3 separate regions of the Homo sapiens genome follow, and regions 1 and 2 are each linked to region 3. Evidence: promoter capture Hi-C in 16 types of primary human blood cells and fetal thymus (Javierre and others, 2016). All regions are on one chromosome and are shown on one strand. Each heading gives the region's core, a stretch centred on a gene start or on the middle of the fragment in contact. The rest is flanking DNA. Distances are from core to core; before and after follow the strand shown.

Evidence for each region. Contacts are between HindIII fragments. The CHiCAGO score rates a contact against its expected background, and 5 or more counts as called.
Region 1: a fragment that was not itself captured here is called in contact with the fragment with the promoter of UST-AS1 in region 3 in 8 of 17 cell types (total B cells, naive B cells, naive CD8 T cells and 5 more); the score reaches 13.8 in total B cells.
Region 2: a fragment that was not itself captured here is called in contact with the fragment with the promoter of UST-AS1 in region 3 in 1 of 17 cell types (naive B cells); the score reaches 5.3 in naive B cells.

The regions. Positions count from the first base shown.
Region 1 is chr6:148,720,424-148,723,545 of GRCh38, forward strand. No RefSeq gene overlaps it. Among named protein-coding and RNA genes, the nearest start is that of UST, 25 kb to the right of the region's middle. The HindIII fragment of the contact is 3,339 bases long and covers 1-3,122 here.
Region 2 is chr6:148,782,541-148,785,699 of GRCh38, forward strand. All of the region lies in intron 1 of UST (uronyl 2-sulfotransferase), which reads left to right. Among named protein-coding and RNA genes, the nearest start is that of UST, 37 kb to the left of the region's middle. The HindIII fragment of the contact is 2,617 bases long and covers 513-3,129 here.
Region 3 is chr6:148,962,488-148,965,971 of GRCh38, forward strand. It overlaps UST-AS1 (UST antisense RNA 1), which reads right to left and starts at 2,197. Exons shown (of 3, transcript NR_038408.1): 1 at 2,074-2,197. UST (uronyl 2-sulfotransferase) reads left to right here. Exons shown (of 8, transcript NM_005715.3): 5 at 1,923-2,076. RefSeq lists enhancers at 1,085-1,661, 1,662-2,238. The HindIII fragment of the contact is 7,762 bases long and covers 1-3,484 here.

The sequences.
Region 1 (3,122 bases), core at 314-2,813, 240 kb before region 3:
TTAGGAGCAGAGGGAAGCAGAATAACACAGACGAACAGCCCTGGATTCAATCACCAAAGCAGATTCAGATTTGCTCCAGTGTTTTCTGGGATCAAAACTCCCACTGCTGCGGCCTCAGAGACATTCATTCTGAGTAATCCAGGAAGTCTGTTGATTTCATTCTTGCTCCAGTGCTTCTGCTCTCCAGCTCCAGCTTTCCTGGAAAGCCACGCTCCTTCTTTTTCTCTTACAGTCCACATGGAATATGTATGTGGGGGAGGAGGGCCAAAAAACTTAACAACAATTCATGTATGGAAAAAATAAGACTTCTTTACTTAGCCTATATCTATTACAGTCTTCCTCATAAGCTCCCAATCACTGGCTAGCAGTAAAAAAATAGTGAAATGTCCAATCTGGTTTAAAGTTTAGTCCAGTTTGGTGTTTTATGTTGACTCTCTATTAAATCAAACAGTTCTGCCTCTCAGATAGACTTCCCCTCCCCTGCCTTTCCTATAAGATAAAGCAAGGATATGAGCAGAGAAAGGGAACTCAGGGTCTTAAGCATGGTGTCCTCTAGTCATTGCCTCTGAGGCAGTGCCCTGTTCACTAGTTTGCTGGGCACCCAGCTGATCCCTGAAGCTGAAGTATGTAGCTGTTGAATTCATGATCTGTCCCTTTGGCTCAACCCTGCTCCCAGCACCACTCCCCTGGCTGACTCAGCCTCACCTTGGCTCCTGCTGGCTGCACCCTCAAGCCATTGCCAGGGTCTCCAGCCAGCCATCCGGACTGGCTGTCCGCTCCCAATCTTCACTGTGAGATCACTTTGCCCTTTTCCCATGGACCTGTGGCTGCCCCTGCTGCAGCTCCATTCACCATCTGCATCATTCAGTTAAAACTGAAGTCTACCCTTCCTGATCATATTGCAATATTCCATAGTTAATTAAAATTATACATTATCTGACTTGTAGTTACCCACAAACTTTAACTCTATTTAAATGTACACTTTTATATCAATATCTAGAGTTTTTCATGAGCCATATCCTCTTTCCTCACCCCCAAACTCTCAGACTCTAGGCCGGCTTCCCTCTGTTACTCTCCTGATTTCCCTCTGTTACTCACCCTTCCTCAACAAGATTTCAGATCCTCTGGCCCATTCTGATTTGTGATATACCAGATTTACCAGATTTGTCTACAAATCAATATTTTAAAGTTTACTTCACTGTTTAATTCACTCTACTGGCACCAGGGGCCACTTTCCTATTAGCTTGAGAATTTTCAGTAAAAGTAATGAGTAATATTCATTCACCAAATATTTATTGGTTACCTCCATGGGCTGAGGACTGGGGATGATGAGGAATACAGCTCCTTGCAAGATGGATATGGTCTTTGATTTCACACAGCTTATTTTCTCTCAATGGGTAACTGATACTGGCCACCACTGCAATTACGACGTACATTTCTAGTATGCATCAAAAGTTCCTAGAGCAGGCCCCCTCTCCTGTAGTCCTTCCCTGCTCCCTCTCCAGGTCTCCTTCCCTGCTCCCTCTCCTTAGCTCCCTCCCTCTGCTCTCTCTCCCTGTCTTCTTCCCTCTCACTGCCTTCTTCTCCACTCCCTCTCCCATCTGTCTTCTTCCCATGCCCATCTTCTTCCCTGCCTGTCTCCCAACCTGCCTGTCTCCCCACTTTTTCTTCCTCACCATCTTCTTCTCCATTCCCTCTTAAAAAAGAAAAGAAAAGTTCCTAGGGCAGACTTATTTTAACTTGTTGTGAATGGGTATACAAGGATGAATTGGTTAAAGCTGTTTATATTTGGGTACTATAATAGGACACTTTTCGCTGTACATCATAGCCTATTCAATTAGAGATAGCTTAAAGAACAGCAAACTAATTATTCATATTTTAAGAAGTCTGATAGTAGGGTCACACCAGTGTTGGTTGGTCAATTCAGTAGCAGAGCAATGTAGGGGGACCAACTCTTCTGGTTATTCCAGGGCTGAAAAATTTCTTGGGACAGAGGACTTTCAGTGCTAAAACTGGTACAGTGTCAGGTAAACTGGGATGGTTAGTAATCCTATCATATCACCAAGCCAGTCCTTGGCTTTGTCCTCCTGGAGCAGCTTCAATTATTATATCTTCATCAAAAATCTTTTGAAAGTAGGACAGTGAGTGCATTTCTGTCTTATGTCCCTTTATATGAGAAAGAAAAAAACCTTTCCAGAAGCCACCTGGCAGATTTCTCCTCTTATTTCATTGGCCAGGGTTTTATCATAAAACCATACTTATAATGATAATTCTAAATGGATATTAATCATGATTGATTAGGATTAATTAATAGTCATCCCTTAAAACTGGGAAGAAACATATGCAACATACATCTTACAATATGTGAACACATTCTGATTCTGTTAGAAAGGAAGAAGTAGAGAGAAAGGCTTCCCTGTAGATAATCAATGGCACTGTTTGCAAAACATTAGGATAGACTTTTGCTGCTGTTGTTGTTCATCGTGTAGGTTACGTGTTTGTAAGATCTTCACAACCAAATCACTTTTAGTATTGCTCTTTAAAAATGTTTGAGGTTCTGCAATTATGTAGTTATACTTGTAAGTTCCTAGGTAGGATGACAAGGTCTGTGTTAAATTTCTTTCCTGTCTCCAAGCAGAAAACTAGTGAAAAACAACAACAACAACAACAACAACAACAACAACAAAAACTGGACAAAATCATTCAAAACAACCATCACAAGGTACTAGAAGATGACCAAAGGCAGACAGCAAATTAAGGAAAATCTACTCATGAAAAACTGCTACTGCATGAAGTAAGACCGACAAGACTGTGGGCTTCTTACTTGAAAGGGTTCTCATCCTTTCTCTTCCACAGCTCAAGTGGTAAAGACCATTATCCAGTAGTAGTTGAGTTGTTGTTAACAGGTAGTGAAAACCTGTTTTTTCCAGGTGGAGATGACAGATTCAGTTTGGGGTAGGAGCACAAAATTTGTAGCTTTATCAGACAGTATCAAGTATTTCAATTCAAGGAAGATGGCAACCAGCTAGAAATTTAAATGTGAGATATTGGAAGTGAGAGCCATAGAAGGGCTGAAATAAAACTCTCCACAAATCTCTGAATGATTGCTAAACTACACATAT
Region 2 (3,159 bases), core at 571-3,070, 180 kb before region 3:
CCTGGGTTCAAGAGATTCTCCTGTCTCAGCCTCCCGAGAAGCTGGGATTACAGGCGCCTGCCACCATGCCCGGCTAATTTTTGTATTTTTAGTAGAGACAGGGTTTCACCATGTTGGTCAGGCTGGTCTCTCGAACTCCTGATCTCGGGTGATCCACCTGCCTCGGCCTCCCAAAGTGCTGGGATTACAGACATGAGCCACAGTGCCCGGCCAAGTTGTTTCTTATGGATAAGCCAAAAAAGCGGCTTCTTGAGATGGAATCTACTCCTGGCGAAGACGCGGTGAACATTGTTGAAATGACAACAAAGGATTTTGAATATTTCATAAACTTAGTGGATAAAGCAGCTGCAGAGCTTGAGAGGATTGGCTCTAGTTTTGAAAGAAGTTCTACTCTGTGTAAAATGCTATCAAACCACATCATATGCTATGGAGATCTTTCGTGAAAAGAAGAGTACATCAATGTGGCAAACTTCGTTGTTGTCTTATTTTAAGAAAGTGCCATAGCCACCGCAAGCTTTAGCAACCATCACCCTGATCCATTAGCAGTCACCAACATCGAGACAAGACCCTCCTCCAGCAAAAAGATTATGACTCACTGAAGGCTCAGATGATTGTAAGCATTTTTAGCAATTAAGCATTTACAATTTTTATATTAAGGTATATACATTATTTTTAGATATAAGTGTATTATTGCACACTTAATAGACTATAGTGTAACATAAACATAACTTTTATATGCCTTGGATAACTAAAAAACTCACTATATTGTCATATTTGCTTTATTCTGGTGGTCTGGAACTGAACCTCCAATATCTCTGGCACACATATACACAAATAACATTTCTGTAATCTGATAGTTTTGCCAGATAAGTCATATTCTCATTGACTAACAGAGCTCAAGTTTTAATCAACCCAGCAAAAAGCATTTCTCTCCTGGAGTTTTTCCCATGTACACCTTTCCCCTGAAGAAGCAGACGTATCATTATTTTAAATAATTCTTCCTTCTTAGGAAAAATTATAGGCATATTTTCTTCTCACAGCTACCAAATGTCCTTGATATCTGTGCATGCACATTTATATGTAAAATCAGAGCTTCTTGTGGTTTTAGAATTGGAAGAGGCCTTAGAGATGAACTTGTCTGGTGATTCTCAACCCCTAAGCATGTTCTTAACGTGAACACTTGGGAGTGGAAGCCTGGGGAACCTGAAATAACTACACATTTCCTGCTAACCTTCTAATTCCTAGTCTGCCATCCTTGCAGTAGTAAGGTTCCCCTGTGCAGTGGGAATTTTCTGTCCCCAGGGGGTTGGGGACAGAAAAATGTTGCACTATAGATCTCATCCAACCCCGCATTTTACAGGTGAAGATGATGAGCTACAAGATTCAATGATATCTTCAAAGTCACACAACCCGGCCTAGAAATAGGCTGCTGCTGATCAATCCACTGCTTTCTCTGCCTATGAGTTTTCCCCAATGTCAGTGATTTCTGTCCTACCTCTGTAATTTACGGCATATCACGAAACCCCAACCCTCATACGCTTCATCATTTTAAATAAAGACTGACTTTTATATGTGAATAATTTATGAAAGAAACTGTAATCCATATTCGATGTGGAAATGTAACCACATTTCACTCACTATGAAAAAGGTAACACTAAAAATAAATGCTATGAAAAAATATATTAAATTTTAACTAAAGTTCCCCACTTAAGTTTCTGAGCCTGAAGTTTTCTCTCTGCTAAAAAGAGAGATTATCAAGTTATGAAGAGTTTAAACATAACACTAGCCCCAAACGATGACACTCTTTTTATGTAATCGGAATTATTGAATGAAAATTTTGAAGGAAATAACATTCTCTCGACATAAGTCCAGGCAGTATTTACTAACCAACACACCATCTCAAATCCTCTCAAGTTCCACCAGTGAGTGAGCTGTGTACCCATTCACGAGGAACTGTCTCCCAAAAGGGAAGCTATATCAGGCAAATCATACCTCTGTCTGTATCTAAGCTGGCTGGAAGGTATTAGATTTGGTGGCAATCAGAGTATTAATTGGAAAGAACAAGTGGAAAATTGTACATATATTGGCTGTTTATCTTGTGTATGTGTCCACAGACACCCTTAGAAAAACTGAAAGCACAGTGCCTGCGATATGATAAAAGCTCAGTAAATATTTGTTGAATGAATTGATGAATACCTGGTGAATGGCAAGCATTCTGCCTCAAGTCAGGTAGAAACAATAGACTGGTAAAAGCAAGTTGCTGCATTTTGTTTCAAGGCACTTTGAAATGTCTTATCAGTGGACATGAAGTATAGAAGACTTAGCAGACTCAGGAAGAGCAGAGCATGGCCATGGAATATTTAACAGATAATGAAGAGCATATATGTGGCCGGGCGCAGTGGCTCGTGCCTGTAATCCCAGCACTTTGGGAGGCTGAGGCAGCCGGATTGCCTGAGCTCAGGAGTTGCAACCAGTCTGGGCAACACAGTGAAACCCTGTCTCGACTGAAATACACGCCGGCTTGGCGGCGTGTGCCTGTAGTCCCAGCTACTAGGGAGGTTGAGGCAGGAGAATTTCTTGAGTCCGGGAGACAGAGGTTGCAGTGAGCCGAGACTGAGCCACTGCACTGCAGCCTGGGCGACAGAGCAAGACTCCATCTTAAAAAAAAAAAAAAAAGCATACATGCATTTAGGCATTAAGATGCTATAGACCATTATCTTTTATAGTCTGTGTCACACTTCATGTTATGTATCAAGAGGAGAAAAGCATCTCAGCCCAAGATTTGATTCCTGATTTTACTACTCAATAGCTAGATGATTTGGGGACAACTGCATAATATCTTTGAGACTACTTAGATATACAAATGAGGACTATGATAATGCCTACCTCAAAGGTTGTTGTGAGGGTTAAATGAGGCAATGCAAATGAAAATTGCTTTATAAAGACTAAAGTGCTATATTAATTTGCCTTTATTGAAATTACATACTATTAAAATGACCAGCGAACTACCATTTGTGCAGAGTGGTTGAAGAATATGGCATGCTGATTATTTGAACATTCTGGATAATAGAAGTATAGTACATGTCTTTCTGGTTAAAAAGAATTACAATAAAGTATTCTTAACATCAAAGCTTACTAACACAACTAATCGTTTGGATG
Region 3 (3,484 bases), core at 947-3,446:
TAGTCCCTAGCTTTATTACTTTAGTTGCTGTTTATCATAGATATGAAACCCAATTTAATTTTAAAAGGGGGATAAATCTGGGGTGTGTACAGTAGTTAGCTGGTGGTTGGCACAGCTAACTCCTGGGACTCCAGTTAGTTGTTCATCCAGTTACATGAATGTGTATTTCTGAGAACTAACAAGATTCGCATTGCAAGGCTAATCTCACCCATGAGCAGTGTGTGTTCCAATGTGGTAGTATTTAAGGGCTCCAGGGTGTCATTCATATGTCCTGGTGCCTGAAATTCCACTATCTCAGAGTTGTTCCTTTGGATTCTTCTCTCTGAAGATTCTTTTTAAAAATGCAGATAAACCAGGAACAACATTATATGAATTCATACACAGAAAAGGATGGGGGCTTGTTATTACTTTCCTCTGACAACAGAGCCCCATGATATGGGAAGAAACGTTAACAACTGAGAGGCACACACTCAGATGTTCATTTCTTCATTTGGTCATCATTTGTTGAGCACCTACTGTGTGCCACACACTGAGCTAGAGCGTGTCGTTCCTGGCTGCAGGAGGCCCACAGTCTGATGGGAGAGGCACACATTTCCACACAGTGCAAGAGAGAGGGCCCAGGGCACAGAGGAGGGAGGCATGGACCCTGGGTTGGGCATTAATTGCTGAGGGATGTGATGTGACTCCAGGCTGGGTTTTGAAAGGTGAATGGAGTCTGCCAGCTGGGGAGAGGCAGGAGCGGGGTCCTGTCAGTTTGTTTTCTCTTAGTTCTTTCTGACCCCTGACAGAATGTCCAGGCACATTCCTCAGAAGGTCACGAGGCCATAGGGCTAGAGAACCCTGCAGGCCCCTCAGGAGGTCACCAGAGCATGCCCTCTGCCCAGAGACTGGGGCACTCTCCCCGAACTCCTCAAGGCTACTGCTTTCAAGCAGTTCAAAGAGAAAAAGAAGGAATCATTAAGAGAAATCCAGCCAATCTCATCACTCTGCTTCGGGAAGACCTTGTTCTTGGGCCAAGATTTAGTGGATTCATCTAATCCTTTCATGGAAGGAATTAAAATGGAACACCTGGCTATTTGCTTTATTTTTATCTGAAGCCACTTGCCATCACTTGAGGATAATTATGTTGAATTTTGTTTCATTCTTGATATCCCACACAAAATTTCCTCAACTCCAGAAATCACTTTTCCATAATTAAGAGCATAGATTCTAGAGCCAGATTGCCTGGACCCATATCCTAGTTCAGCTACAAGTTATGAACCTTATTCCTGCCTCAGTTTCCCCAAGTGTAAATGAGGATAATTATTTTTTCTACTCCATTGACGTGTTATGGGGCTTCAGCAAGCTGGTTACATGAGGTATTTAGAACAAGGTGAATAGCGAGTGCTCAGTGAAGACTGGCTGTTATTCACTCCCTTACTGCAGAGCACCTGACCCGGAACTGTTTGAATTACAATATAGAGGAAGTGCCGTCTCACCCAGCAAGGCAGTCAGAACCTACCAATCAACTGAAACATTCACCGAGGGCCAATTGTGTCCCTGTGGGTTCTGTTCTAGCCATTGGAAATACTAAATCCAATACAGAGTGGCCCCCATCCTCAAGAAACCTACAGCCTGGTGAGAAAACTAGACACCATCTCTTCCTTAACATGCACAATGGTGTGGTTTGTACCGTGCTATACTATGAAATGTCCTCACAGCCCCTCAACAGGTACCTGGAACAGGTATCATCCTCCCCACTTCCTGCATGATAATAAAATGCTTATCAGGAAACACCGTTTGCTTATTACGTGTCATTGGCACCTTAGCATAGGAGGTCATCTTTCAATAAGTTAACCTAGAGGGAAGGGGAGATGTTGTCTAAGTAGGCCCTGTTTTCGTCCTGCAGTGATGGGTTGTAACGAACTCAATGTTTGTGTTAGGTTTGGAGGAGACCAGCCTGTCTACATCAACATCATTAGAGACCCCGTCAACCGGTTCTTATCCAACTATTTTTTCCGTCGCTTTGGAGACTGGAGAGGGGAACAAAATCACATGATCCGCACCCCCAGCATGAGGCAGGAGGAGCGCTACCTGGTAAGTCCTGTCGCATGCAAAAGGCGGTCTCCCCACTGCCTGAGGAGTGGGCCCTCCACCAGGGAAGGTTCACTCTTCCCTTCCCAGGCCTTCTCCTTGGCGCCTCCATGGAGCGTGGCGCAGAGAGGGTGCTTCCGCAGGAAGGAGGTCTTGGCGAGAGAAACTGGTTCCGGGTGACCCAGATCCTAATGAACATTTCCTCAAATTATTTTCTGATTTTGCTTTGCTCAGTTGTCTTTAGTGCTAGGTTTTGGGACCCAGAGCGTTAACAGTCTTTCCTAAGGAGTCCTGACTAGCACTGTAGTGCTTAAGAAGAACAAAGGTGTTGGGGGGGTGTCTGTTAGAGGGCGGCAGAGCCCCTTCTCATCCCTCAGCCCATTCAGTTCCCATGACCACTCTGGGAGGGGGAGGTGTTTTCAGATGAGGACCCTGAGATTCTAAAGGTTGTGGGATTTGCCACAGTCACCTCTCAGGTAAGGGCGCAACTGCGACCGACTGTTTCGGGTTTCCTGCCTTCACAGTCTGGGTTCTTTCCACCACAGCGCGATAGAACCCTGTCATTGCACCAGTAATTGTTTGCTTTCTCTGGACTTGTTTTGGGACCCTCAGCTCCATAAGGGATGTTAGTCTCGAGCCCAGTAATTATTTCCGCAGCACAGAGGTTGGTAACAAAAACGGAGGGCGGAGTTGCGCGTCTTTCTTTCAGCACTAGAACGAAAGGTACATTTCCCATCCCTGTGTTGAGAAACATGTACTGAGGAGCTGACAGCCTGGTGCCCAGGAGGCTGAAATCCTGGTCTCTGTGTCTGAGAGAGCCCTTGGGGTTCACCCGGACCCATCCTGGGCTGTTGTCGGGCACAAGCAGGAAAGTAGGAAGTGTTGAGGATCAGTCAGAGGTGTTGTTCCCAAAGCTGGAAGATCGCCCAGAGCTGAGGCCACTGCTGATGTGCCGTCAGCAGCAGCCTTGCCGCTGGAGAAAAGCACCGAATCTCAGGGCCACGGCCAGGACGGCTGCTTCCTCATCTCATTTTAAAAACATAATGGAAGTGGATGTTCAGAGGCTGGGAGCATTTGGGGATGATGTCCCCTCAGTGTCACGTTCATGTTTTCAAATCCATGATTAGAGTAGAGAAAACTGAGATACAGAGAAGTTAGTGTCTCAGCCAGGGCCAGACGACTACACCAGACCCACGGCTTTCCACTCACCTTCGGTATTTGATCAACTACCTAAGGCTTCAGTGAAATATTTTGATGATTTTATTTTTATTTTTATTTTCTTCCTTTGATGATATATTTTAAAAGTGGCTTTTCCCTTTTTTTTTTTTTTTTTTTTTAGTTTTTATGGCGAAACCCTAATCTATTTCTTTATAGGTTATGAGGCCGGGCGCAGTGGCTCACGCCTGTAATC